Regions from separate parts of the Homo sapiens genome. Here all the other regions are linked to region 5. The links are contacts of gene promoters, found by promoter capture Hi-C in blood cells and fetal thymus (Javierre and others, 2016). All regions are on one chromosome and are shown on one strand. The core of a region is centred on a gene start or on the middle of the fragment in contact, and the rest is flanking DNA. Distances in the headings are between cores, read along the strand shown. Region 1 overlaps SLC4A5 (solute carrier family 4 member 5). Region 2 overlaps MTHFD2 (methylenetetrahydrofolate dehydrogenase (NADP+ dependent) 2, methenyltetrahydrofolate cyclohydrolase). Region 3 overlaps SLC4A5 (solute carrier family 4 member 5). Region 4 overlaps SLC4A5 (solute carrier family 4 member 5). Region 5 holds the start of STAMBP (STAM binding protein). Region 6 overlaps SLC4A5 (solute carrier family 4 member 5). Region 7 overlaps SLC4A5 (solute carrier family 4 member 5).

Region 1 (4,269 bases), core at 32-2,531, 400 kb before region 5:
ACAAACTGAAGGTAAGGCCGGTACTAGGAGCAGAGGCATAACCTCTTTCTTCCCACAAAGTCAGAAAGAGCGAAGGAAGGACATGATGCTTCTTTCAGTACTTTGGGCCAGGAAAATATGAGGACAGAGACTAGAGTTCCCACTTGGTGTGTTGAGGGGGAAATGTGACCTCCAGATGTGGGTAAGGCCACCAGGGCTGGAGTGACTTTCTGAGGACCAGGACCAAACTAGGCTGGGCCACTGGGCACAGGCTCTCTGTCTTTCCCAAAGTGACCTCGAGTTCTTATGAGAATCAGCAGATCCTGACAGGGGCTCAGCCTAGAACACTGAGGCAGAGGAACTTCCTTAGCCTTCCTGGTCTCTGCAACTCCCCACCCAGCCTGTGAGCCTGAGAAGACTCGGGTCACCCCCTCCCCCATCCAGGTCTGGACCACTTTAGGTGTGGCCTGTCCCAGCTGGGGCCCCTCAGGAACCGCAAAGACCCTGTGGCCACCTTCTGGGCCCTTCTCCCCAGAGACCCAAACCCAGGGCCTCTCCAAGCTTGAACATCCCTCTCTTCTATGACCCATACCCCTTAGGCAGTTCACCCTTTCAGATGGGGTGGCAGGACACACCCACCTCTGCAATCCTTGCAAGGAGCACCTCAGGCCCCTTCAGTATCTTCTGGAAGGCAGGGGGTCCTTGAACCATGTTCCACAGAATGGTTGCATCCAGGAGGAACTGGCTCCCCAGAAACTTCTCCCTCCCCCAACCCCGCTCCTGCAGAAGGCTGCCGGCTACCATCTGGACCTGTTCTGGGTGGGCATCCTCATGGCTTTGTGCTCCTTTATGGGGCTCCCCTGGTACGTGGCTGCCACGGTCATCTCCATCGCCCACATCGACAGCCTCAAGATGGAGACAGAGACCAGTGCCCCTGGGGAGCAGCCCCAGTTTCTGGGAGTCAGGTAGGAGGGGTCAGGGCCTAGGGATCACCCAATGGGGAGGGGCCCACTCGGGGAGGAGAAGCTGGCTTTGCCTGCCACAAAAGGATTTGGACAAAAAGGGCCCCCGCTCTGACGGCCCAAGAACCACAGGGACAGGAGTGCTATCCCTGGAGGGAGGGAAGGAGAGAGACAGAAGTCCAGCTCTAAGTGGGGCTTTTTACCTACTGGGCTCCAAGCAGTATGCATACCCCATCCATAAATATGCACACGTGCCAGACACTCATCTTCATCAGCCACCCAAGGTCCCCACAAGGCTTCGTGCTGTCCTGCCCTTTTCCTCTTCCTCAAGACCCTCCAGGCCCCTACTGCCCTGATGGCCCTCCTGCGGGTTCAGGTCCTGCTCAGTCTCTATTCCTCCAGAAGGCTGTCCTGGGATCACCCCCGCTCCCCAGTCTGTGGCCCTGCCTGTTACTCCTGTTCCTTCACTTGCCTCTTCTCTCACGCCCCATGGTAGGCAGAGAAGTACATCTTCAGCCCCTTAGGGCCTCCAGGGCGAGACCACACCAAACCCTGGCTTTCTCCTACGTGGCTGCCCTAAGAACTTCTCCCACTATCTTGAGATACTTGGACCGCCCAGCCTGCCCGAATGAGGCTTCTCTGCCCGACTGCAGGGCTCACCTGCCTCCCACCCCTGACACCTGCTCTGCTGGTGTCCTCTTCCCCAGATCCTCATTCATTGTGCCCCACAAAAACGAAATCTTAAAATCAAAGGGCAGAGTAATAGCATTTTATCTCGCATGTATCCTCACAATAGGTGCCATTATTATCTGCATATACTGAGGCTCAAGATGGGCAGGCTCCTGCCCAATGCCACATAACTAGCAAGTGGCAGAGCCAGGATCCAGTCCACATCAGTCCTGCTCAAGCCCCCCAGCTACAAGCCACTACACTAAGCGGCCTCCCTCAATGCTCCTGCAAGATGCCCTTGCCCCAGTCAGGGGCCGCCTGTCTTCCCACATATGGTTCAGCTGGGCCTCAGGCAACCAGGCAGAGCTTCATGCAGAAGCCCTCAAGGCCATGGCCTTGGACACAAGCTTCAGGTGCCCACAGAGGGGCAGGAGGGCCAGAGTAGTTGCCAGGCATTTCCTGGTACACCCTGACCATGTGTTCTTCTCTGCCAGGGAACAGAGAGTAACCGGCATCATCGTCTTCATCCTGACGGGAATCTCTGTCTTCCTGGCTCCCATCCTAAAGGTGAGGTCCTGCACTGTCACCTAGGGCCTCGTTGCCTGAGAAAGCAGAGCGGATGCCTTAGGCAGGGAGGGGGTCCCCACATGGCTAGGGATCACTGGCCTATCAGCCCCCTAAGAAAGGCACAGTCTTGGCCGGGCATGGTGGCTCACACCTATAATCCCAGCACTTTGGGAGGCCGAGGCAGGCGGATCACCTGAGGTCAGGAGTTCAAGACCAGCCTGACCAACATGGTGAAACCCTGTCTCTACTAAAAATACAAAACTTAACCAGGCATGGTGGCACGTGCCTGTAATCACAGCTACTCGGGAGGCTGAGACAGGAGAATGGCTTGAACCCGGGAGGTGGAGGTTGCAGTGAGCCAAGATCGCACCACTGCACTCCAGCCTGGGCAGCAAGAGCGAAACTCCGTCTCAAAACAAAAAAAAGAAAGAAAAGAAAAAGAAAGGCACAGTCTTACTAGGCCAAAGCAATGTTTCCACACTGTCACCGCCGTTTTCTGTGATACTGCAGTTTTTTATCATCACCAATCCTCTCTCCCACCCATCCCAGGGCCACTCTCACCTTTCTGGAGGATACTCTTCCCTCTGAAAGTTCTGCCAAGTTGTAGCCCTGCTTAGATCAGGAACTTCCTGAATGGGGTGTGTTTCCACATTGCCAGGGTTTGGGGCTCATGAAGTTTAAAACTTGCAGCAGGAGGCCAAACATGGTGGTACATCCCTGTAGTCCGGCTACTCAGGAGGCTGAGGCGGGAGGATCACCTGAGCTCAGGAAGTCTGGGGACTCGAGTGACTTTTTCCCACACAGCTTGAAGCTCCTCTTGCTTATGTCCCACCACAACAGCTAAGAGACTAAGTCAAGTAGGGGTACAATGGAGGCAGGCGTCCCCCACAAGGGTCTCTTTCTGGAGAGACTCCAGAAAGCAAGGTGTTCCCACCAGGCTTCCCTGCTCTCCACTCCAGCCAATCGCCCATCACTCTCCCTTTCCCTTGATCAGTGCCCACGTAAGACTTTCCTTTCTTGAATTAAGTTTACCTGTAATTGCCTCAACCTTTTGCCGATATTATTTTTCCTCTTTGAATATCTCAAAACAGCTCATGACCAGGCATGGTGGCTCATGCCTGTAATCCCAGGACTTTGGGAGGCCGAGGTGGGAGGATCACTTGAGACCAGCCTGGGCAACATAGCAAGACCCCCATCTCTACAAAAAATACAAAAATTAGCCAGGCACGATGGTACATGTGAGGCATGATCACTTGAGTCCAGGAGGTCGAGGCTGCAGTGAGCCATGATCATGCCACTGCACTCCAGCCTGGGCAACAGAGTGAGACCTCTTCTCAAAAAAAAAAAAAAAAAACCTCATTCAGAGGTGACCTTGTAAGAAACAAACGCTAAAGAATGATGATTCTGGCTGATGTATTTACAATGGAAAATATTTCTGGCTTGAGAATTGGTGCTGGGCATACCCGAGCAGTAAGTAGGAGGCTGGCATTTTTTAAGGGATATTTCCCTTGTGGGGGAAACAAATTACACACAGGAGGGCAAGCATTTTGTTTATTGAAAAATATATTTTAAATGGCCAGGGACTACTTACTTTTGTAGAGAGGGTTCTAAGGTGCCATTGTGTATGTCAATTTTGACACTGTTTAACATACAAGTATTTGCATTAAAAAGCTCGAATCAGGCTGGGTGTGGTGGCTCAAGCCTGTAATCCCAGCACTTTGGGAGGCCGAGGCAGGTGGATCACCTAAGGTCAGGAGTTCAAGACCAGCCTGGCCAACATGGTGAAACCCGAAACCCTGTGTCTACTAAAAATACAAAAATAGCCAGGTATGGTGGCACATGCCTGTAGTCCCAGCTACTCAGGAGGCTGAGACGGGAGAATTGGTTGAGCCCGGGAGGTGGAGGCTGCAGTGAGCCGAGATTGCACCACTGCACTCCAGCCTGGGCAAGACAGAGTGAGACTCCGTGCCCCCCCCAAAAAAAAAAAACACCTTCGAATCGGCCAGGCATGGTGGCCCATGTCTGTAATCCTAACACTTTGGGAGGCCGAGGTGGGAGGATCACTTGAGAACAATAGTTTGAGACCAGAATG
Region 2 (4,063 bases), core at 1,125-3,624, 380 kb before region 5:
GAAGACAGAATTTCAGAAATTCATACCATACCAGACAGATGTGTTTTATTAAAAAAGAAAGAAAACCCTTTAATCAGAAAGTCTGATTAAATTCAATAGTAACTCAAACTCTTAAAAAATTTCTGGAAAAGTCAACAGGATACATACATCACAGAAAAGCAGGCAGCTGCTGACAGTTCTTTGGTGGAAAAGTAAGTTGCGTACTTACCCAAGCTGCCCAAATGATTATCAAGCCAAGTTTGTTTTTCAAAAATAGGTTTTAAGATACACCAAAGAAACTATACAATACAAAAATTTAACAATGAAGTTAAAGTATATAGCAAAAGCCAAATATGACAACACACATGTATAATGTAGAAAAGAATCCTTTCAGTCCTAGAAAACTAAAATGGGGAGAACTTACTGAAGGGTAACATACATAAAATGAGTACTAATAGCAAGGAATAATCCTAAACATTTTCCCAATAAACTGACTAAGCCTCAAAAGGACAGCTTAGGAAAATGATTAACATGCAGTTTTTCTTTTTTCCTAGCCAATTCAGTTCTACTTAGATAAATCTGGTTGCCAATCAATACATATATAAATTAATTTTTTTCTGCTCAATTACTACCATTTTTTCTTTTTCACCTTTTCCCTAATTTTCTCTAGCAACACTTTTCCTTTGGTTTGATCAGTTGAACTCAAAAGGTTTGGTACCTAAAATGAGTATCAACTGTTATTGCAATAGCACTTGGGAAATGCAATCCTAGAAAAGGCGAATGTGTAACTGAGGTGCTTGACAAAGTGAAGCATCCATCCTCCATATGGTAATGTCTCCCATATTAATCACTAGGTTAATGGCTGCTCCTGGCTAGATCACAGGACCCTGCATGATACTGGAATGCTCCCTGGTGAGGTACTGCAGAGGTATGTGCAGAAACACCCACCCATTTAAGCTTTCAATAAATACAAGGCATCATTTTAAACCATTTCAGTAGAATAAATTAAAAATATTGCATTTCTATTGGCCTGCTTTGCTTCTTGAGCTGGCCTGGAGTGCTGTTTGTGACACAGAAGACACAGTAGTTAATTAGTGGCTACCCCAAGCTCTTTAGACTTCAGCACTTCTCGCTCTTCAAGCCTCAGCACCTTTTTTGCAGCAATAATGGTATTCTTCATTAGCATTGCCACTGTCATGGGGCCAACACCTCCAGGAACTGGAGTGATATACCCAGCTTTTTGTCTGACTCCTACATAGAAACAAGACAGGCAGGCTGCTTTAGTTATGGCAAAGGACATGTGTGTACTTTAATATATTATTAAACAAGCATGCAAGGAAAAAGTAACATACATAAGCATAAAACTCAAAAATCACATCTACATCATTCAAGGTTTTGTGAACACACTAGTAAAATAACATGCACATACAGAGTTGTTCAAGGAATATTTATACATCTAAGTAACCTATAAAGAAATCTATTAAAGAAATATCTAGTAGGTTAACTGTGTGGGAGTTGTAAGTATAACAATAATAAGCATTACCTCAATACCTGCCTATAGCATTTTCTTAATTTAATTTTAAGTATAATTTGTCCAAAGCAGAAAGCACAGTAATTTTTTAAAAGTGAGAAGTTAAAAAAAAAATTAACCTAATGTTAAAGTGAAAATCCTTACATACCTAGGCATGGGTTTGACTGCTTTAATAAAAACAGAAAGCTAGGAATAGGATTATCAGCATAGGCCGGGTACAGTGGTTCATGCCAGTAATCCCAGCACTCTGGGGGGCTGAGGCAGGGTGTGAGGTGGGGGAGATTGTTTGAGGCCAGGAGTTTGAAACCAGCCTGGGCAACATGGTGAAACCCCATCTCTACAAAAAATACAAAAATTAGCCAAGTGAGGTGACATGTGCCTATAGTCCCAGCTACTCAGGAAGCTGAGGCAGGAGAATTGCTCAAGCCCAGGAGGCAGAGGTTGCAGTAAGCTGAGATCCTGCCACTGTACTCCAGCCTGGGCAACAGAGAGGGATCCTGTCTCAAAAAAAAAAAAAAAAAAAAAAAAGGAAAGAAAAAAAGGATTATCAGCATAAAACTCGGATAAACATTCTATCTTAAGAACTGAAAGGAGAGGCCAGGTGCAGTGGCTCACACCTGTAATCCTAGCACTGTTAAAGGCTGAGGCAGGCGGATCACTTGAGGCCAGGAGTTCAAGACCAACCTGGCCAACACAGCCAAATTCATCTCTACTGAAAATACAAAAAATTAGCCGGCATGGTGGCTCATGTCTGTAATCCCAGCTACTTGGGTGGCTAAGGCAGAAGAATCACTTGAACCTGGGAGGTGGAGGTTGCAGTGAGCAGAGATCACACCACTGCACTACAGCCTGGGCAACAGAGTGAGACTCTGCCTCTTAAAAAAAAAAACAGAACTGAAAGAAGAAATCTACTAGTATATTCTAGTATTTCAGGGGTATGGTTTTTTCCTGGACCATTTTAACTTTCTAGGCCTGTGATCTCTCAGTGTGAAAATGAGAAATCTCTAACACTTTTTGGGAAACTCCATGGTTTAGAAAAATCACTTCATCAAATTTTCAAACTTGTTAAAAGTCAAGAAATTGCTTGAATTATGAAATAAGTCTAAGGAAAAAAACAATTCCCTGAAAAGTTTATAACTGCTCTCCATCACTATGATAAAACACCTAAAATAATTCTAGAAAAGCCATAATTTTAAAAAGGTTTCTCTAATTCTTATGAAAAGCCTACTAAGGCCAGGTGCAGTGGCTCATACCTGTAATCCCGGCACTTTGGGAGGCCAAGACGGGTGGATCACTTGAGGCCAGGAGTTCCAGACCAGCCTGGCCAACATGGTGAAACCCCGTCTCTACTAAAAATACACAAAATTAGTTGGGCGTGGTGGCCCATGCCTGTAGTCCTGGCTACTGGGGAGGCTTGAAGCACAAGAATCGCTTGAAGCTGTGAGGTGGAGGCTGCAGTGAGCCGAGATGGTGCCACTGCACTCCAGCCTGGGTGACAGAGTGAGACTGTCTCAAAAAAAAAAAAAAAAAAAAAAGAGAAAGAAACGAAGGAAGAAAGGGGTGGGGGGAGAGGAGGGGAGGGGAGGGGAAGGAAGGAAGGGAGAGAGATGGAGGGAAGGAAGGAAAGAAAGAAGGAAGGGAAGGAGAGAGGGAGGGAAAAGCATACTGACTGGGCGCAGTGGCTCACACCTATAATCCCAACACTTTGGGAGTCCCAGCTACTCGGGAGGCTGAGGCAGAAGAATAGCTTGAACCCAGGAGGCAGAGGTTGCAGTGAGCCGAGATCGCGCCACTGCACTCCAGCCTGGGCAACAGAGTGAGACTCCCATCTCAAAAAAAAAAAAAAAAAAAAAAGTAAATAATCTATCCTAAATGTCCATGAAAGGTAGTATTTATTGATTTCATTTTTAAAAATAAAATTTCACCATTTACCTTCAAAATCCACATCTCCAACCAACTTGGGTTTGGCAGTTACAGGATCGTGAACTCTATTTATTCCCACATCAATGACTGCTGCTCCTTCCTTGATCATATCTGCTGTGATCAGATTTGGAATACCTGGAAATGGAGAAAGGAAAGATCAACTTAGTACTGAAAACAGTCTACCTGTCAGATTCTTGTCTAACTTCAATTTCAAGAGACCCTGAAGAACTAATCAACATGTTTTATTAAAACCTGTTAAAAATATTAACTAAGGAACTATTTACTTTTATTATTTTTTTATTTTGGCTCCTGACAGGAAACAAAAGGAACCATTTAAACTTTATACAGTAAATATTAATATAAATATTTTGAAGCTTTAGGAATAACATTCACCCATCTAGACTATAATGGACTGCCAGAAACCGGTATTCCAATCACAACTCTATCCTCATCTTTGTAGGCAGCTCAAAGAATCATTACAAGGGGAATGATGAATAGCAGCTAGGCAGGCGAATTCTAAGATGAGGGGTACAACCTCCTCTTCTGAGGTGAAGTCCTTCCCTCCATCCCCCTTGTGTTCTTACCTGCAGCAGATATTACAATATCTGCAAGAATTGTATGTTTCTTCAA
Region 3 (3,975 bases), core at 560-3,059, 420 kb before region 5:
GGTTTGATATAGGCTCAGTGTAAGAGCTTCAAGGGCAGGAGGTAATACTGGAGAGGTGAGCCAGAGACTACACAGAGCCTGTAAGCAGAGCTGAGTCACACTCTGTCCCCAGAGTGATGGGGAGCCTAGAGGACTTTAACTCTTTTTCCGTTTGTGCCAAGAATACTCACTGGCGGTGCTTGCGGCTGCAGGCTTTACCCTGAGATAACTTTTCCCCACGAAATGTCTCACTTTTATTATTATTTTTGCATTGCTCTTATATGTTGACTTTGGAAACAAAAGACATCATTCTACTTAAAGCATTCTGTTTTTAGTTGTGGCATTTCCATTTACAAAATACACTAACTCTCAATCATTGAAAATATCAAATCCTAGAAAACTAGCATTCCTACGAGTGATGCTAACATCATTCTCGAACAGTTTTTGGCCTAAGATTCATTTGATGAATCCAGTGTTTCCAAAATAGATGATTCTGATCATTCCAATGATTCCAATGTTAGTTCTTTTTAGAAATAATTCTAAGAATAATTTTTATATTGCATTTTCACATTGAAAATCAGTCAGATTTGCTTCGGCCTCAAAGAGTGTGTTTATGTAAAATTAAATGAGTGCTGGCAGTGAGCTGCACTTTTTTTTTTTGCCTAAATGGGAAAGGGTTAAATGTGAGCATAGTCCCATCGAATCTGTAAGTCAGAAAGCACACTCTGGAGACAGTGTGAAGAACACGGCCTGAGCCTCCAAGGGCGAAGGGCTGGAAGTAAAAAATGGTTATGAAATATCTGAGCTCCTTGGACTGGGCTCTACAAAGGTTTTCTAATATGTATGATGTGTGGAAAACTGAAAACAGAAAGGTTAAGTAACTTAACCGAAGTCCTACAAGCAAGAATATGGAGACCTGGCCTTCAGATCCAAGAGAGGCTGTCTTCCCCCAGTGCCTGCTGTGTCCCATTGTGCCATATTTTACCAATGTACTATAGTCTCATTCCAAAAACTGAGAGTGAGTTGGCAGTGGGAGATGTGGTTCAAAGGGATTCCTTTAAAAACTAGATGTGATATGCTCCCAGGCATTTCAGAAACAGACCCGATCTTTCTTTTCTCCCTCCTCTCTCCTCGCCAGCTCTTCAGTGACGTGGCCTACAAAGCCCGCAATCGGGAAGATCTGATCGCAGGAATTGATGAATTTCTGGATGAGGTCATCGTCCTTCCTCCTGGAGAATGGGACCCAAATATCCGGATTGAGCCCCCCAAGAAGGTGCCCTCTGCTGACAAGAGGTGTGTATGAGAATGGGCAGTAGGGAGAGAAAAAGGAGGCTTCAACTCTGTCGGTATCATTTTATTTCTCTTTAAAATACATCTGAGGCTCAGCATAGTGGCTCATGCCTGTAATCTCAACACTTTGGGATGCTGAGGCAGGTGGATCACTTGAGCCCAGGAGTTTGAAACCAGCCTGGGCAACATAGTGAGATCTTGTCTCTACAAAACAAAAATCAAATTAACTGGGCATGGTGGCATGCACCTATAGTCCCTGCTACTCTGGAGGCTGAGGCAGGAGGATTGATTGAGCCCAGGAGGTCAAGGCTGCAGTGAGCTGTGATCATGCCACTGTACTCCAGCCTGGGCAACAGAGTTTGACCCTGTCTCAAAATAATGTTTAAAATAAGTTTAAAAATAATAAGATATATCAGAAACAAATATGGCTAAATGTGAACATTTGTAAAATCTAGGTGACCTGCGTGTGGATATTGTTAGACAATTTTCTGCATTTTTGTCTGTCTTTTAAGATATTTCATAATTTTGGTTGGAGAGGTGAGGGGTGCTCTGGGGGACCCACTCTCCTTCATCCCCCTTCTCTTCCAGGAAATCTGTGTTCTCCCTAGCAGAGCTGGGCCAGATGAATGGCTCTGTGGGAGGAGGCGGCGGAGCTCCTGGAGGAGGCAATGGAGGTGGTGGTGGTGGTGGCAGTGGCGGCGGGGCTGGCAGTGGCGGGGCCGGCGGAACAAGCAGCGGGGATGATGGAGAGATGCCAGCCATGCATGAAATCGGGGAGGAACTTATCTGGACAGGAAGGTGCCCACCCCAGGCCTCCCAGTGACCCTGCTGTCCTTTAGACTTCTCCCTTCTCAGCTGCCCTCTAGGGACTTTTCCCAACCATGGTCTGTAGTGCCCACTCGAGGTCACCCCTGCCTTCTTTCCCTCCCAGAGCCCTTGAACCCCATCATGGATCCCCAAAAGGTTGCCTCAGGAGAGGGGAATTTGAGACCCATACAAGAGGAGAGGAACCCAAACTTTTCTCTTAGATATCCTTTGGTGCCTGTTTCCTGGGTCTGCTGTAACAAAGTACCACAAACTAGGTGGCTTAAAACCACAGAAGGTTACTCTCCTGCAGTTCTGGAGGCCAGGAGTTCCACAGCAGGTGTTGGCAGGACCACCGTGCTCCCTGAGGCTCCAGGTGGAATCCTTCCTGGCCTCCTCCTGGCTTCTGGTGGTGGCCAGCAGTCCTTGGTGTTCCTGGCTGGCAGCCGCATCACCCCCGGCTCTGCCTCTCCACCACATGGCCTCCTGTGTGTCTGTCTTCACAGAGCACTTTCCTCTTTGTGTATGGACCCCAGTCATGTTGGAATAGGGCCCACCATAATGACTTAATCTAAACTGGATTACATTTGCATAGGTGTTACATAGATGTTAGGACCTTAATATATCTTTTGGGGGGACACAACTCAATAACAGTACCTTTTTTAAAACTTAATTTACCTATTCAAAAACTTTTTTTTTTTTTAAAGAAAATAAGAGAAAGTTCTCCTGGCCTGGGTTTCTTTTCCAGCTCTTGGAGTCATTCAGGTTGATCTAGATTTAGGAAAGGATGTGGCCTTGAAAATCTACATATAAATCATGACTTTGAGAATGAAGTCATGTTTTATATGCCCTTGGCTTTATACCAGTGGTTCTCACTGTAAGCAGCTTTGGCCCTCCTTAGTCCCCCTACCCCCGAGCCCAGGGAATTTGGCAATGTCCAGAGACATTTTTGCTTGTCACAACCGGAGAGGGGAGATGCTACTCGCATCTAGTAGGTAGCTGCTAAACATCCTGCAGTGCATGGGACAGCCCCTGCAGCAAAGGAGTATCCAGTCCAAAATATCAGCAGAACTGAGGTTGAGAAACTCTGCTCCATGCTAAGGACTGCATTAGGGGCTATGGGAATAGCAATCCCAGTAAACAGTGTCTCCAAACCTAAAATCTTCCACTCAGCTGTTCCAGATAGCAAAATCAAAAAACAAACAAATACCAACCAGTTATAAGGTTTAGGATCTGTTCTTAATGAATCTGTTATAATCTGGGATGCTTCTGTCACCGAAAGTTAGACACTCCTGTGTTCACCAAGAGCAGGCACCCTGCAGATGGTCAGGGATGTGAGGAGGACCACCATCTGTGGACCCCAGGACTTCCATTCTCCATGGAATGTTAGGTCTACCCCAGGACATATTCCCATCAGACTTTCCCTCTCCAAAACCCTCTATGTCCACCCTTCCCAATGTGGGTGGTGCCAACCACAAACTCAGTCCTACAGGAATTCATCCCTGGCCCTAAATGTTCTGGTGGAAAGATCTTTGCCCCATCCACCCTGGTCAAGTTCCTTTCCTCGCCCCAGACTCTGCAAGTTCTTGTAAATAGCCCTGCCCCTGCACTGGTGTTAGTGGTGAGAAAGCAGCCCCTGGGCCTGTCTTGAGCAGGTTCTTCGGTGGCCTGTGTCTGGATATCAAGAGGAAGTTGCCCTGGTTCCCAAGTGACTTCTATGATGGCTTCCACATTCAGTCCATCTCTGCCATCCTATTCATCTACCTCGGCTGTATCACCAACGCGATCACCTTTGGTGGGCTTCTGGGGGATGCCACCGACAATTATCAGGTGTGTGCGAGCCGGTGCCCTGAGTGTAAAAGTAAGATCTGCCGCCACCTGGTGGCAGCAGGAAGCTTCATC
Region 4 (3,780 bases), core at 1,110-3,609, 440 kb before region 5:
GCCTGCCCCCTCAGTCTTTTATACTTTATAATCTTTCAAATTTACTGCCAAGTTTGGTTTATTAACATATACATGGTATGCAAAGTCATAATCCGTTGTAGAAACAACTTGTTGTACTATCTCACATACATATTTTCATGCATGTGATTTTATGTAGCATGAATTAGCCAAATAAATTGTAAGAATGGGCCAGAATTTGCTTAGGTGTTTCTCCCGTTTTTTTGAGACAGAGTCTTGCTCTGTTGCCCAGGCTAGAGTGCAGTGGCACCATCTCAGCTCACTGTAACTTCCGCCTGCTGGGCTCAAGTGATTCTCCTGCCTCAGCCACCTTGGGCAGGCTCCTCATCCTCTAAGGGTCTCAGTCTCCTCACCTGTACAATGAGAATAGTCACAGACCTACCTCGTGAGATAGATTTAAGGATTAGATGAGATAATACATGTTAAGTGCTTAGCATAGTGCTTGGCTGGGAGTAGCTGGGATTACAGGCATGCACAACCACGCCTGGCTAATCTTTGTATTTTTAGTACAGACAGGGTTTTGCCATGTTGGCCAGGCTGGTCTCAAAACTCCTGACCTCAAGGGATCTGCCTGCCTTGGCCTCCCAAAGTGCTGGGATTATAGGCGTGAGCCACCAGGCCCGGCCTCAGGTGTTCCCCTTTTGAAAAATCTTCCTTCCACAGATCATTTTTTAGTGCCTCTGTCAAAGACTGAACCAGGGGAGTATCTGATGATTCCTCAGACATCTCTAGGAAAATTCTTAACGGGCTTCTAAGTGAATTAATACTGGTCTTCAGTATCTGTTGGGAAATTCAGTATCCTGATATGACTCATATGAAGTTAAAAAACTTTGCTGGATATTGAAGGAAAACTTACATTTCTTACTTTTAAGAAATGAATTTGTTGGAGTTACAAAATGTATTACAGGCCTTAGGCAGAAAGCACAAACATGTCTTGATGCTTTGTAACTAATACACAGAAGTCAAGCTTTTGGGTAATGGGGCGGGGTGGGAGAGTTACAGAATAAAGTTGGTGAGGCCACATAGATAGAGTGACCACAGGGATATATACTTTACAAATTTTAGCTGAGTAAACTTCATGAAAGAAACAAATTCACACAAATGTAATTCTTAAAACAAATGTTTGGAGGCAACATAGCCTTAGCATTAAAGGTTACATACATTGGGAGATTACATTTTTTAAATTAGAATGTCCTAGGGGGGATTTTGCAAACAAACTAACCAAGACACTATTTAATTATAATGATATTCAAAATAGTATAGATAGAAGCTTCTCTTCAATCACAATGTTTATGTATATTCTCCAGATTTTACTCTTATCTAACTACACATAATGGGCAGCCTGTTGTTTTATCATCTCAAGGATCTGTGTCTTCCTTTTAAAAAATATTGATGTCTGATTGTCAGTCCCCTGAGATTCTGATGTAATTAGTCTGAGATTCAGCCTGGGTTTTAGAATTTGTAAAAAGCTCCCAGATGATCCTAATGCAGCCATTGAAAACTGCTGATACTTACTCTAGCCCAGCAGGATCAGTGGGAGTTACGAAGTTTCCATCTGAGGAGACAACTAGAATAGAGGTCTCTTGGTTTTCAGCCCTTTCCAGATCCTCCTTGAAGGAGAACCTCCTCTTCTCCCATCCTGTGGTTTGAGCATTGGAAGCCTTGACTGTACCTGGTAGCTAGCGCCATGATGCTTTCTCCTGCTCTTGTTATTAATTGAACAGCAATGTCCTCTAATTATATCTCTGACCGAGTTACTAGGCACAGAAAAGGCCTCAGTTCTGGCCCTGCTTTGTGTGACAGAGAGCTGCTTTCTGTGACAAGTGACATTTCAAGGTTCCTTTTAGCTACATTCCAGTCAGGAGCGGGGCACCTGGTGCCCACCCTGGCATGCAGAGTTGGGGGTCTACACCCAAGCTTGGGCAAAATCCCTAAAAGTTAAAGCTTTGCTGGATAATGAAGGAGAACGTGGAGATTTTCTTTCCACTTGACCTGCTTCCCCAACTCTAATACCCCACTTTTTGAAGCCAACCATGGTACACAGTTCACTTTGCAATGAGTTGTTTGGGATTACACATGAACCTTATTATCAGGCTTTTGCAAGTTTTTAAACTTGGCTTTGACCAGAGGCTTTTTACAGAGGCCATTCCTTTATTCATTCTGGAGAATGTTTAAGGATTTTATTATGGAAAATTCAAATTTATACAAAAGTAGTATATAGCAGAATGAACCCCCACCTGCCCATCACCCAGCTTCAACAGTTAACAGCTAACTCATAGCAATTCTTGTTTCTCTGTCCCCCACCTACTACCCCAGACACACAGACACACATGCTAGGTCAGGTTGACACAAATCCCAGACACCACATCATTCCATCTGTAAATATTTCATTATGTCTCTAAAAGATAAGGCCTCTTTCTTTCTTTTTAGAGATAGGGTCTTTCTCTGTCACTTCAGCTTCATTGCAGTGGTGCGATCACAGCTCACTGCAGCCTCAAACTCCTGGACTTAATCCTCCTACCTCAGCCTCCTGAGTAGCTGGGACTACAGGCATATGCCACCACACCTGGCTAATTATTTTATTTTTTGTATAGTGGAGTCTTGCTTTGTTTCTCAGGCAGGTCTCAAGCAATCCTCCCACCTCAGCCTCCCAGAGCGCTGGGATTACAAGTGTGAGCCACCATGCCCGGCTTCTGAGTATTTTTAAATATACTTAAACAAAATGAGTTTTAAGCTTTTTTTCCCCAGTCATTTCCTCATAGCGAGATCTCACCCAAAGTGATCAGTGAGGTCTTGCTACCCTCAAGCAGAAGGGAGCAAGCATTTAATGCAATTGATCTGGGCAGGAGACCATAAGGGGACACCAGAGAGGAAGAAATGGCACCTGTCTTCAAAAAGCTTAATGTATATTTGGCATTTGTTATATACCAAAACAATCATAAAACATGATTGGCTACAATTAATTATTAATTTAGGCACTGAGCCTGAATTAATTAATTATTTTAGGCTCTGAGCCTAAGAAGTTAGAAACTTTACCTAGGATAGTCTGGAGCACAGAGTTGCCTGGATCCCACCCGTTTTTATTCTGATGTCAACTGGTCTAGGATATGACTGAGACATGAAGATTTTAAAGGCATCTAGGGTATTCTTATATGCAAGCAAGCTTAAGAATCACTGTCCTAGAACAGTGGTTTCTAAAGTGCTTCAGGTTGAGAACCATCCTAGGGTGTTATAGGAGAAATAAGCAGAATAACTGGCAGAGGCTTTGTGGAGGAAGGGGCATTCTCGCTGGGCAGTGGAAAACAGAGAGGAAAGAGGACATTCTACATGATCTCAGAGGTGATCTGCAGACCAGCAGCATGAGCACACCTAGGAGCTTATTAGAAATGTAGAATCTTTGACCTCATTCCAGACCTGCTCAATGAGGATCTGCATTTTGACAAGATCCCCATGCACATTAGAGTTTGAGGCACACTGGTGTAGTAGAATATGTACTGTAAATGGACTTCAGTTATAAAATCAGAGAAACTAAAGCATAGCATGACTGTGCTAGAAAGGAGACCCTTTCAGCTAGTGTTCTTGGAGCCATTCTAAGGGAAAGAGGCCATGTCCTGCTGTATAATGAGAATCAGATCCATGTGAGCTACGTTTGCCTGCGTTGGGACCCCATATAAGTTGAACTATCCCTAAGTCACACCATTCTATGTACCTACAGAGCAGGGGCTCCTGAACCCACAGGGTGCAGTCAGATAACCCGGGAGT
Region 5 (4,150 bases), core at 291-2,790:
CAGCATCTTTTATTTTCTATTATTTCTCCTTCCAGATACCCACATACCTCCACCCCAGTACCTGGCAGAGTGCACTCAGTGAACTTTCTTGAGGATTGTTAACTAACTTCAAGGTTGACCATTTTTACTTAATCTGAGAGTAACTGACATTTTCTGTGGTATCCTTTTTCATATTTGAGCACAAGGTGAGTTAGGGGAACTGGTCTGGGAATTAATGCTCATAATTGTAACTCTGCTCACTAAACCACTATAGTCAATCTATAAAATCATTCATTCATCATTATCATGGCAAGAGACTTAAATCTTGAAAACAACCATTTACTCATCTTCATAGACTAAACACTGAATAACAAAAAGGCACGATGGTAACTTGCATTGCAAAAACCCCTGGTGTCCCAAAACTCCAGTAATTCTAGTCTTTCTAGATATAGTTGCTGTTAGAATCAGATTCCAAATTCCAACCAGATATCACCACTATCATCTCCAAAATAAAACTGGGCATTTGACACACATTGCATTACAGCAAACCCTAATCAGTATGCTCTAGAATACACAAACTACAGTAGAATAAATCTTGGAATTCAAGGCCCTGTGGCAACTGGCCCTCCCCAACAGAGATCTTTTGCTTCAGTCAGGATTCCAATCCGCCCAGGCATCCTCACATTTCAGTTTCATTTATCTATCCAGTTTTTCTTTTCTACTACAACTCTTCCCTCAGGGGTAGTCTTCTCTCAGCCAATTCCATCTTTAGGTCTCTTCAATATTCGGGTCACAATTCCTCCACAAACCTTCCCCTCTAAAACACCCTCACTAATAGCACAAAAGCCGTGAGGACTACTAGGGATGCAGAGATAGTCCATCTCTCACGAGGCCTCCTTAGGGACTCAGAAAGCCGCAAGCATATCTAAAACCTCCCCAAGTAATTAGTAAACCTAGTCCACGGCCCATGAAAGTTAACTGAAACAGAGGATGCTTGTTGCATCTCAGTACCTCTTGGGAGAGGTTCTTGTGGGTTAAGAAAGGAACCACCTCCCAAGGCCAGGAAGCGGCGCCGGTTACCACCTGGTTGAGCAATTCCAAAAAGGGGATGCAGCATCTGCAAATGAGGGGGAAAGGCGGCGTAAAGGACCGAGGGGGAAATACGAGGAGGAGAAAGGAAGTAGCAGGAATGAGCGGAGGGGGCGTATACAGTAGGGAGGGCTCTATCGACAACTGCTTGAGGAACCCTTCTTGAAGGCACTCAAGACGAACTTGCCAACCCCAGGCACAATCATCCAGGGTTTTCGGGATCTTTCAAATGCAGTAGGCGGGGAACCGCTGGGCCTGGCTGGTCAGGCGCCAGCCCGCGGAGACAGAAGCCGTCGGGTGCCTCGAGCGAGGCAGGCCGGGCAGGGGACTCGGGGAGAGTAGGCTGCAGGCCCCACACTCACGGCGGCCGATCCCCTTCAAAGTCCAACCACGCTCGGAGGCCCTGCCCCACCACGTTCCCGGGACCCTTCCCCACCTTTCCCCGCGGATGACACCCGGAGGTTCCGGAAACGTCACATCCGGCGCCCGCTCCGCCCACTCCCGTTCGTCTGTCTATTACATTCCCAGTGATTTAGGACTTGGAACGGAGAGCTAGTAGGTGGGGCTAGAATCGGCACCTGCGGAAAATCCGACCAATGAGGAGCGAACGACACAGCGGCCATCTTGGTAAAGGAAAAGGAACAAGGAAGAAAGTGGAACCAATTAGCAAGCTAAGGTTTGCTTTTAAAATTATTTTGATTTGGGGTAGTCCCTCATCACACTCACAATACTCCTGCATTTAAGGAGGGATTGCTGATCCCAGCACAACTGCAGACTTAGCTAAACTAACCAGGATTTATAAATTGGGGGACAGAAAGTCTTTCGAATGTATTTTTTAGCTTGTATTACATTCTACACAAAAATTGGTAGTCTTAGATATTAGGCAATATCTAAGACTAATTTTATTGCTTAGAAAAGAACATAAGTCTAACTTTTTTTTTTTTTAAGACAGGGTCTTGCGGTGTCACCCAGGCTGTCACAGGAGTGCAGTGGTGTGATCATAGCTCACTGTGGTCTCCAACTTCAGGGCTCAAGCGATCTTCTTGCCTCTGCCTCCCAAAGTACTGGGATTACTGGCGTGTGCCACCGCACCCAGATGAGACTAACGTTTTAATGTCAAAAAACCTATAAAATATTTGGAAAAAAAGCGTTTAATCTCTAAGAGCCGCTATGCAAAAGCAGTGGAGACACAAAAATCTGTATGACACTGTTCCTGCCCTGAGACCGGGACAAGGTGGTTTTATGCATCAAATACAGAATGGCACGTTCTGCATGTAGATGTGTGTCTGTACGAATCCATATACATCCTCTTTACAAAAAGGTCCTACAAGCTTGCTAATCATTCTGTCTCAGAAGACTTTGTGAAACATTAGGCTTTGGTTTAAAAGTCTAAGTCTCTGGGGGACACTTTCCCAAAATTTGGGAGCCTCCCTGTGAGTTTGTTAGTGTGATGGCATGACCTATTCTTCAAGGTCTAGCTTAAATCCCTAATTCAGGTGTTGCCTCCTCCACCTAGCCAGCCTCCAGATCTCTCATTTCTCCCAACCTCCGTTGTGTATATTTCTGTTGGAGTTACCTGAAGTGATTTTGTGTAGTCATCAACTTTTCAGACTTAGGGTTGAAAGTACTTGCTTGCATCATATCACCTCCCCTTCTGCCCCCAGCAAGCATTAATGTGCATGGGTCTACTATCAACTCTCATGGATCTACTGCAGATAAATCTGGGAAGATAATTGTATAGGGCACTCTACTGTGTCTTCAAAACTCTCTCTACTGACTCTCTTCAGAATGTAAACATGATGGGTTGGGCCTAAAGAAATTGATGCACTGGAGATGCTGGTCATTGGGTGGGCATTATAGTGCAGATGGGGTCCTGGCAGGAGGCAACACAGGTCAAAATCTGATCCATTCAACCTCTCACTCAGTAAATGTTTACTGAGTGTCTACTATGTGCCAGGTTCTGTTCTAGGTGTTAGGGATACATCAGCAAACAAACCCAGCAGGTGGATACTCTAATGGTGGAAGCACAGGTAGAAGTACAGCTGGTGGGGTAGGGAGGGGCATCTGCTCCCATTCAGCACAATCTCTAAAGTAGTTCTTTTTTTTATAATGTTTAGCTTAACAAGTAAAGAAAATTTACAAACATCCTAGATTTTAAGATTATGATGAGAAGACTTTAAGAAGCTATAACTGAGACACACATATAAGGGGTGTGCATAGTCGTAAACATAGCTAGCGCCACATAGAGGCTGTTCCTGATATTAGAAAGTTAATATGCCCAGTTGCTAGCAGTTCTTAAGGTAATAGCTAAGTGAATATAGGAAGCAGGATCTAGTCTTTTTAGGGAGAGAATTTGTAAATGTTGACCAGAGTTTTTGATATCTGGGGCAAAGTTCAATACTCAGCTTTCTAGGGACCTGAAATAAGAAAATCTTGGCCAAGGTAAAAATTTTACATTCCTCATTTCTTGTTTAACTGGAAAAGTTTAAAAACTAAACAATTTTGTATACACAATCAGGAAATCAAAGCTATAAAAGATTCTTGGCATAACTGATGAGAATATCCTACCTACCCCTGCCCTAAAGATTGGAGGCTAAGCGTGGAAGGTATTCCTTCAGCAAATAGGCTTCAGCAGTTCACCTGGCAGACTAGACCAGGTTAGGAATTGAGATGCTCTTTCCTTCCGGTGCTCACTCCCAGCCATGAACACTTTTCCTGAATATAGCAGCCTCCATCTGGCCGCTTGCATATGCCAACGTCAGGTCTCCTGCACTCCTGCATGCTCATTCCTACTTGCTCATTTTTGGGCAGCAGCAAAAGATGCCTAGAAGGTGAAGTTCTTAATCTGAAATGTAACATCGGGGTTTAGAAAACACAGGCCTGGACCAGGTGCGCTGGCTCACGCCTGTAATCCCAGCACTTTGGAAGGCTGAGACAGGAGGATCGCTTGAGCCCAGGAGTTCGAGGATATAGTGAGCTATGATTACACCACTGCTCTCCAGCCTGGGCAACAGAGTGAGACCTCTAAAAAAACAAAACAAAACAAAACAAACAAAAAACCCAGGAGGATCACTTGAGCCCA
Region 6 (3,850 bases), core at 740-3,239, 490 kb before region 5:
TCAAATGATTGTCGTGTCTCAGCCTCCCAAGTAGCTGGGATTACAAGCATGTGCCACCACACCCGGCTAAGTTTTGTATTTTTAATAAGAGACGGGGATTCACCATGTTGGCCAGGCTGGTCTTGAACTCCTGACCTCAGGTGATCCACCCGCCTTAGCCTCCCAAAGTGCTGGGATTACAGGTGTGAGACACCGCACCCTGCCCATTATCTTCTCTTATTTAACTTGCTGAGGAGGAGTCTTCTGCTAGTCTGATTTCTATTCATTGACAGGTGACCTGTTTCTGATTGTTTTACTCTAGAAGTTTTTGGGATCTTTCTTTTCTTCATAGTCACTGTTCTAAAATTTCATAATGATCTAGCAAAGTGTGAGGAGTTTTTTTCCCAGATATTTTCTGTGCAGAGTGCTCAGTTGACCCATTTTGCCTGAGACTATTATCTCATAGTGTTGGGGAGACCTCTTAGTTATTTTTAAAAATACTTTTAAAAATTTAATAATAAAATACCTCAAATGTGTACAATATGACAAATATTGATATATTACTGTCCAGAATTAACAGATGTTAACATTTTATCATATTCGTTTCATATCTACATGTATATCTATCATCTATCCAAAATACCAAAGATCATCAAGCATCATTAACCTTATCCTTCCCCAGAAGTAACCTGAAGTTGGTGTGTATCATTCCTCTACATAATTTTATGATTTTATTACTTATAAATGTAACTATAATCAATATTGGTAGTGTTTTGTTTGTTTTAAAGTTTTATGTAAATAATATCATTTTCTTTTACAACTTCCTTTTGTTCTCATTATGTTTTTGAGATTTATACATGTTAATACATAAAAATCTAGTTCATTAATTTCAACTGTCCATAGTCATCCATTATGTGTCAGTTAGGAAGGCCTCAGCTAAAAGTAACATAAAACTTGGCTAGCAGTTTAAATATAGAGATTTTTTTTTTTTTTCAGATAACAGGAAATCCAGCAATAAGCAGTCCAGAGCTCAGTGATATTCTCAGGAACCCAGATTTGTCTTATCCTTCTGCCTTGTTCTTAGCCTGTGCCTTTGGTCTTCATACCTGTCACCTCATTGTTGCAAGATGGCTGCTTTATCTCAAAGTCTCAAGGTCCGTGCAAGAAAGCAGGAGGGTAAAGGACAAACTGTGCATTCCAACTGTGTCACTTTCAATTAGGAAAATAAAAGCTTTCCTGAAAGTCTTACCCAATGGACTTCCACCTAAATCTCATTGGCTAGAATAGGGTCACATGACTATTCCTAAACTCAGTGACTGGCTAAGGGCAACCAGAATACCGTGAATGGTTTATATAGATCCCAGCTCATGCCTGAGCCTAGGGAAGGTGACTACTGGCAATCAAGGGCCCTGTGTCTCTACCTGAACAAAATAAAGTTTTGTAAATAGGCAAGCAGAAGAGGGAATGGTTGTTGGACAGTGTAGGAGACATGCTAGATGACTACCCAATGCGCATTCTCCCTTTTTCCCTTACTGACAGACTCAATATTATTTTCCCAGTAAAAACTTACTTTCCCAGAGTCCTTTGTCAGATGACCCAGGTGTGGTTTTCAGTAACCACATCTGGGTCACCTTTGTCAACACATAATTTTTAGTAGAAGTATATCCCAAATATTGTGCTGAACATATACTCAAAGTTATTTGTTGTTATCTGAAATTCAAATTTAACTGGGCAAACTGTAGTTTCATTTGCTAAACCTGGCAACTCTATCCAGGAAGGAAGAAGAAGGAAAAGTGAAGAGGCTTTCTTCTGAAAATGCTTTATCTAGGAAGGGACTCCTTCCTCAGGTTCTTTCTCCTGTAGCTCTTCAGCCAGAGAGAGCTGAAGGGTGTCTGAGGGAAGTGTTTCTTTTTAGTTGGCCATAGTGCTACTGTGGCTGGAGCAGAAGTCAGAAAGTCAGAGCAGAAAGGGGAATGGGCATCAGGGAAGTAACTAGCAGCATCCTCCACAGGTGTTTTATACTCCCCAAATAGTTACATCCAGTGGTGATATTCAAAATATTTAACAACCAACATGGCACTGACATTGACCAACCCAAATGAATACCTGATCACTAAAAATGGACACCAATCATAAATAGCAGCCATACCAATGCGTATCGGTGGAATATCAACCCTGTTTCTATTGCTGTTTTCAGGAAAATTAACACTCACTTGATTTATTATGACTGTGTAAATATTGCTCACAGTTGAGTATAGTGTACCATGATTACTTTTCCTTTCTATGACTATTCTTGACAAAGTTTTTGTATCCTCTTGCAACAGTCAAACACATCAAGACCATTTTTCAGATCCAGGTTTTTTTCCTGAAGACATCCTGTCCAGAGCCTGCTCTAAGATGTGCCTGTTGCTCTCTGGACTGCTGCAGGGTTCTTCTCCGGTGACTTTCCTTTGCCTATCTTTTGTGGTGAATCCCGTTTCCCAGACTTAATTTCTTTCTTAGTGCAAGTCCTTCATCTTGCTAGAGTTCCTCCTTCAGTCACTTCCTGAAAAAAAGGTGCATCGAAGGTAAATTTTTGAGATAGTTTATGTCTGAAAATGCCCCTATTCTACCCTCCCACTTGATTGATAGCTTGATTGGGACTGGAATTCTAGGTTGGAAATAATTTTGTCTCACTTTTGGAAGCATGACTTCATTGTCTTGTAGCTTCCACTGTAGTGATTGAGAAATCTGATATCAATTCTTGTTTCAGATTCTTGGTAGATGACTTATTTTTTTCTGGAAGCTTTTAAGATTTCTTTATCCATGAAGTCCTAATGCTTCATAATGATGTGACTTGGAGTGGATTTTTTAAAAATTAATTTTTTCTGAGCTGATCGAAAGTTCTTTCAATCAGAAAATTCTTCCAGATCTTTCAGTTCTGGAAGGTATTCTCATGTTATTTCATTGGTAATTTTCTCTCCACTATTTTTTTATCTCTCTTTTGGGAACTCCTATTATTTTGATGTTTGGGCCTCCTGGATTGATCCTCTGGTTTTCTTGTTTTGTCATAGTATTTGTTTAATCTCTTTTTATTTGTGTTCTATTATCTGATATACTCCTTCAAATTTATGTTCCAAGTCTTTTATTGAAAATTTTCTTCTAAGGTATTTTTAATTTCGAAAAGTTCTGTCTTATTCTTTAAAAACTTATAGGTTCATAGGTTTATAGCATTCTGCTTTTCTTGTCGTCATGAATACAATGTCTTTTCTTGTCTCTGTTGTGATTTCCTCTAATTTGGTCTTGAGAGCTGTCTCTGGAGAGTAGCCAGAAACCAAGATAGCCACTTTCTAGGAGAGCTCTAACCAGGAGGAGAGTAAGGTTTAGATGGTCAGGTGAGACCAAATGAAACCAAAATGCATAAAACAGAAGAAATTTATTATTTACAGATCTCAAAGAGGTTAGGGGTGGCTGATGGGAAGTCAAGACGCAGTAGGATGTTCAATCAGTGAATGGGGAGAGAGAGAGAGAGAAAAAGAGAGAGAATGCACTATATTGCAAACAATCATATAGGGAGGGGAAGTTTTAACTAGGCCAAAGGAGTACAACTAATTGGGTTTCAAACAACTTATGTCAGGCCAAAAACTGGATGCCAAGAAAGCAACTATATTAAACAAACCTATGACAATCTCCTTGAAGATATTAACTATCTTTGTTTTTGTCTTTGTTTTGTAATCTTTGTACAGGGGTCATGCTTATCTTTTATTATTCCAGTTTTAGTATATGTGCTACTAAAGCGAGCACCAGCTACATAGTTTTTTAAAGAACCTAAATGTTTTAAAATATATATTTAGGGAGTACAAATTCAGGTTTCTTACATGCATATATTTCA
Region 7 (4,181 bases), core at 1,307-3,806, 470 kb before region 5:
TGCTGGGAAGACCTCTTGCCCCCGTGTGGGTTCTGGATGCCTCACACATACTGACATGGTCTCTGAGATGTTCCCCTGTCACCTCACCACCTCTCCTACATTCAGGATTGAGGTCGTCCTTGGAAGGTGGAGTCTGCTGGGTCCTTCCTGAGCCAGAGAAGAAGAAAGCAGTTTAGATTTGGTGCCCTCTGCTCAAAGAGTTTAGAAGAGGTGACATAGAACATCACAGAAGTAGTTATAGATGGTGGATTTGACATTGCTTTGGTGGTGTCTTGTTCAGTTAAGTGGACACTGATTTTAAATGCAAACCAAAGGAAAAAGAATGTAGAACGCTTTGGCATATATATATTTTTGAGACGCAGTCTCATTCTGTTGCCCAGGCTAGAGTTAAGTGGCGCGATCTCGGCTCACTACAACCTCTGCCTCCCAGGTTCAAGTGATTCTCGTGCCTCAGCCTCGCGAGTAGCTGGGATTACAGGCACGTACCACCACGCCCAGCTAATTTTTGTATTTTTAGTAGAAACAGGGTTTCACCATGTTGGGCAGGCTGGTCTCGAACTCCTGACATCAAGTGATCTACCTGCTTCAGCCTCCCAAAGTGCTGGGATTACAGGCATGAGCCACCACGTCCAGCCCTTTTGGCATATTTGTACCAAATATATTGGTGCATTTCCTTCACCGTCTGCTCTTCCTATACTATGTGTGTGTGTTACTGGCTTGTTCCCGACAGGGCTGTGGAGTAGGAAAGGGAGAATGGGAGAGCCTAGGAGGACAGGGAATTGTAGGCCATGTCTCATAAGCTGGAGTAAAGTAAAAACCCCTTTTAAAGGGAAAATAAAGTCTTGTGTACCCATGAAAATGCATTTGTATATTTGTAGGGCCCCAGGAAGCCACATATTCCAATTTGAGAAATAATCTAACTAATTAGGGTTTTATTCCATAAAAATATCTTCCAATTATGAATTATAACCCAAATTTTGCTGTTCCATCTAATAAAAGGAATATTTTTAAGATTATCAAAATGGAAGCAAAATTTAAAAGTTCAAGTAAAACCTTTCTACCCCTGAGAATACATTCCAGACCCCAGTTCCAGACACTCCGGTTTAAGGAAGCCACAAAGCCTGGTAACAAAGTCACCAACCACAGTGATTTTTCTGCAGCCCATGGGCATTGAGTTGGTTTCTGCTGTTCTTCACGGAGTGGAAGTCTCAACCCTCAGTCTTTCACTTCTAAGCAAAATGGGCATTGTATGTGTGATACAGATATAAACCTTGCTCTTGCCACATCTCAGGGATAGTGCCAATGCCCTGCAGAAGTCAAAATAAAACAGCGCCAGAATCATTTTACCTGCCTCATCTGGATAATTGTCTGAATCTCCCACTTCTCTTTGCTGTAGGACACCTGACCACATATGTTTTTCCTCTCTGAGTGTCCTGTCTGTTCTGTAAATCCATCCAGACACCTAGGCAGGGGGCCCAGCTGGTCTGGCTGCATAGCCCAGCAGGAACTCCCACTTCAGAGAACAGGGGCATCCTGCAGAGTATGAGGGGCCTGGGCCAGGCAGGGTGGCTAGATGTGTCTGGGCCTGAGGGTCAGGCACACTATGCAGATGGAGGATTGAGCAGAGACCCCTTCAGTTCCTGCCTTACAGAATAATGGCAAAGATCCAATAAGACAGTATATGTGAAGGGGCTTGGTACCTGTGAAAGCCCCCTGAGAATGATAGTTCAATATCATTTTTAACTAAATGTATAATATTAATAATCATAACTATAAAGTTGAAACAAAGGCCAGGTAGCTGACTTTTATTCCTTCCACAGAGACCCACGAGGGTGGCTTTAATATATGCTGCAAGGTTCCTAACCTCCAGGACAGTTTTGAAATACACAATCCAGCTGCCTGACGTGTTAGATGTGAATGGGGCTTGGGTGTCTGTACTTTTCTATTAAGTTCCAGTGTACCTGGTTAAAAAATACACTATCCTAAAGAAATTTGATGCTTCCTTGAACCACATTTAGCTTACAGAACCCTGTGAAGTCCCTGCTTTAACTCTAGTTGAGGCCCAAGTAACTGCTGGTCCTCATTCCCACAGCAGGTCAGGGGCAGGAAAGAGGCCAGCCCAGGCATCCTTGTCCTTCTTGTACTGGCTCCATGCGCTACATGGAAAGCAGCCCCTTGCTGCAAAGTTGCTCTCTGGATCATGTCAGAGCTCCTTGGAGAAAATATCTTGCACCTGGAGATGACAGACCCACAAACAGATAAGCATAAATTGGTGGGAGGTGCGTTGATGGAGGTCTGCACAGGAAACTATAGGAGGAGAAACAGGAGCACATAGGCCTAGGTGGTGAGTGGTGGCAGAGGGGGCAGCACAGGCTTCCTGGAGCAGGTGACACCTGTCATGAGTCTTAAATGATAGGTAAAAATTAGCTAGAAAAGGCAGCTGGGAGAATTAAGGAAAAGGAAATTCATACATTTCTCTTTTCTAGCTTTATTGAAGTATAATTGACAAAATTATACATGTTTAAGGTATAAAACATGATTTGATATACATACACATTGTGAGATGATTACCACAATCAAATTGGTTAACACCTTCATCACCACTCATAGTTACCTTTGTGCGAGTGTATGGTAAGAACACTTAAGATCTCTCTAAGCAAATTTCAAGTATGCAATACAGTATTATTAACTATAGTCACCATGCAGTACATTAGATCCCTGGAATATTTTTATCTTTGACCAACATCTCCCCATCTTCCACATCCGACCCCTGGTAAACACTGTTCTGCCCTCTGTTTCTATGAGTTCAACTTTTTCAGATTCCACATATAAATGAGAACATGCAATAGTTCTGGCTTATTTCACTTAGCGTCATGCCCTCCCGGTTCTTCCATGTTGAAACAAATGGCAGAATTTCCTTCTTTTTTATGGCTGAATAATATTCCATTGTATATATTTGTATATGCCACATTTTCTTTATCCCTTCATCTGTCAGTGGACATGCAGGTTGTTTCTGTTTTGGCTATTGTGAATAATGCTGCAGTGAACATGGGCACGTGGGTATCTTTTCAAGATACTGATTTGGCTTCCTTTGGGTGTATACCCAGAGATGGGGTTGTTGGATCATATACTAGTTCTACTTTTATGTTTTGAGGAACTTCCATATTATTTTCCATAATGGCTGTACCAATTTACATTCCCACCAACAGTGCACAAGTGTTCCCTTTTCTCCACTTTCTTGCCCATACTAGTTATCTTTTGCTTTTTGTAGCCATTCTAACAGGTATGGGGTGACATCTCACTATGGTTTTGGTTTTAATTTGCATTTCCCTGATGATTAGTGATGGTGAGCACTTTTTCATATACCTATTGGCTATTTCTTTGTTGTATTAGTCCATTCTCACGCTGCTAACAAAGACATAACTGAGACTGGGTAATTTATAAAGAAAAAGAGGCTTGATGGACTCACAGTTCCACATGGTTGGGGAGGGCTCACAATCACGGCAGAAGGTGAAGGAGGAGCAAAGGCATGTTTTACATGGCAGCACGCAAGAGAGAATGTGCAGGGGAACTGCTCTTTATAAAACCATCAGGTCTCATGAAATTTATTTATTTATTGAGATGGAGTTTCGCTCTTATTGCCCAGGATGGAGTGCAATGGCGCAATCTCAGCTCACCGCAACCTCTGCCTCCCGGGTTCAAGCAATTCTCCTGTCTCAGCCTCCCGAGTATCTGGGATTACATGCATGCACCACCACACCCAGCTAATTTTTGTGTTTTTAGTAGAGATGGGGTTTCTCCATGTTGGTCAGGCTGGTCTTGAACTCCCAGCCTCAGGTGATCTGCCTTCCTCGGCCTCCCAAAGTGCTGGGATTACAGGCATGAGCCACTGCGCCTGGCGAGATTTATTCACTATCATGAGAACATGGGAAAAACCCACCCTCATGATTAAATTACCTGCCACCAGGTCCCTCCCATGACACATGGGGATTATAGGAGCTACAATTCAAGATGAGATTTGGGTGGTGACACAGCCAAACCATATCATATGTCTTCTTTAGAAAAACATCTATTCAGATCCTTGGCCTTTTTTTAAGGGTCTCACTGTGTTGCCCAGGCTGGACTTGAACTCCTGGTATCAAGCTATCCTCTTGCCTCAGCTTCCTGAGGCACTGGGACAA

What was found. The method cuts DNA at HindIII sites, captures the fragments that hold promoters and counts their contacts. A CHiCAGO score of 5 or more calls a contact.
Region 1: a contact is called between a fragment that was not itself captured here and the fragment with the promoter of STAMBP in region 5, in 5 of 17 cell types (activated CD4 T cells, non-activated CD4 T cells, erythroblasts and 2 more). The highest score is 9.2, in activated CD4 T cells.
Region 2: a contact is called between a fragment that was not itself captured here and the fragment with the promoter of STAMBP in region 5, in 17 of 17 cell types (erythroblasts, non-activated CD4 T cells, activated CD4 T cells and 14 more). The highest score is 11.1, in erythroblasts.
Region 3: a fragment that was not itself captured here is called in contact with the fragment with the promoter of STAMBP in region 5 in 16 of 17 cell types (total B cells, activated CD4 T cells, erythroblasts and 13 more); the score reaches 13.1 in total B cells.
Region 4: a contact is called between a fragment that was not itself captured here and the fragment with the promoter of STAMBP in region 5, in 3 of 17 cell types (non-activated CD4 T cells, activated CD4 T cells and fetal thymus). The highest score is 9.5, in non-activated CD4 T cells.
Region 6: a fragment that was not itself captured here is called in contact with the fragment with the promoter of STAMBP in region 5 in 14 of 17 cell types (activated CD4 T cells, naive B cells, total B cells and 11 more); the score reaches 9.1 in activated CD4 T cells.
Region 7: a contact is called between a fragment that was not itself captured here and the fragment with the promoter of STAMBP in region 5, in 7 of 17 cell types (naive B cells, activated CD4 T cells, non-activated CD4 T cells and 4 more). The highest score is 7.4, in naive B cells.

Annotation. Positions count from the first base shown.
Region 1 is chr2:74,229,144-74,233,412 of GRCh38, reverse strand. It overlaps SLC4A5 (solute carrier family 4 member 5), which reads left to right. Exons shown (of 31, transcript NM_133478.3): 23 at 1-11; 24 at 766-944; 25 at 2,105-2,177. Among named protein-coding and RNA genes, the nearest start is that of MTHFD2, 33 kb to the right of the region's middle. The HindIII fragment of the contact is 1,477 bases long and covers 543-2,019 here.
Region 2 is chr2:74,211,246-74,215,308 of GRCh38, reverse strand. MTHFD2 (methylenetetrahydrofolate dehydrogenase (NADP+ dependent) 2, methenyltetrahydrofolate cyclohydrolase) reads right to left here. Exons shown (of 8, transcript NM_006636.4): 6 at 4,018-4,063; 7 at 3,443-3,568; 8 at 1-1,230. The coding sequence ends at 1,067. Among named protein-coding and RNA genes, the nearest start is that of MTHFD2, 15 kb to the right of the region's middle. The HindIII fragment of the contact is 2,871 bases long and covers 939-3,809 here.
Region 3 is chr2:74,250,271-74,254,245 of GRCh38, reverse strand. It overlaps SLC4A5 (solute carrier family 4 member 5), which reads left to right. Exons shown (of 31, transcript NM_133478.3): 15 at 1,118-1,272; 16 at 1,858-2,067; 17 at 3,729-3,903. Among named protein-coding and RNA genes, the nearest start is that of MTHFD2, 54 kb to the right of the region's middle. RefSeq lists enhancers at 3,665-3,724, 3,775-3,944. The HindIII fragment of the contact is 4,323 bases long and covers 1-3,970 here.
Region 4 is chr2:74,270,746-74,274,525 of GRCh38, reverse strand. All of the region lies in intron 8 of SLC4A5 (solute carrier family 4 member 5), which reads left to right. Among named protein-coding and RNA genes, the nearest start is that of SLC4A5, 71 kb to the left of the region's middle. The HindIII fragment of the contact is 790 bases long and covers 1,965-2,754 here.
Region 5 is chr2:73,826,351-73,830,500 of GRCh38, reverse strand. It overlaps STAMBP (STAM binding protein), which reads right to left and starts at 1,540. Exons shown (of 10, transcript NM_213622.4): 1 at 991-1,540. LOC105374807 (a long non-coding RNA gene) reads left to right here and starts at 103. Exons shown (of 3, transcript XR_940246.3): 1 at 103-185; 2 at 1,597-1,744. RefSeq lists an enhancer at 1-43 and a silencer at 1,551-1,769. The HindIII fragment of the contact is 5,447 bases long and covers 1-2,401 here.
Region 6 is chr2:74,319,311-74,323,160 of GRCh38, reverse strand. All of the region lies in intron 5 of SLC4A5 (solute carrier family 4 member 5), which reads left to right. It also overlaps the pseudogene RNU6-542P. Among named protein-coding and RNA genes, the nearest start is that of SLC4A5, 22 kb to the left of the region's middle. The HindIII fragment of the contact is 1,554 bases long and covers 1,213-2,766 here.
Region 7 is chr2:74,298,789-74,302,969 of GRCh38, reverse strand. All of the region lies in intron 7 of SLC4A5 (solute carrier family 4 member 5), which reads left to right. Among named protein-coding and RNA genes, the nearest start is that of SLC4A5, 43 kb to the left of the region's middle. The HindIII fragment of the contact is 6,556 bases long and covers 1-4,181 here.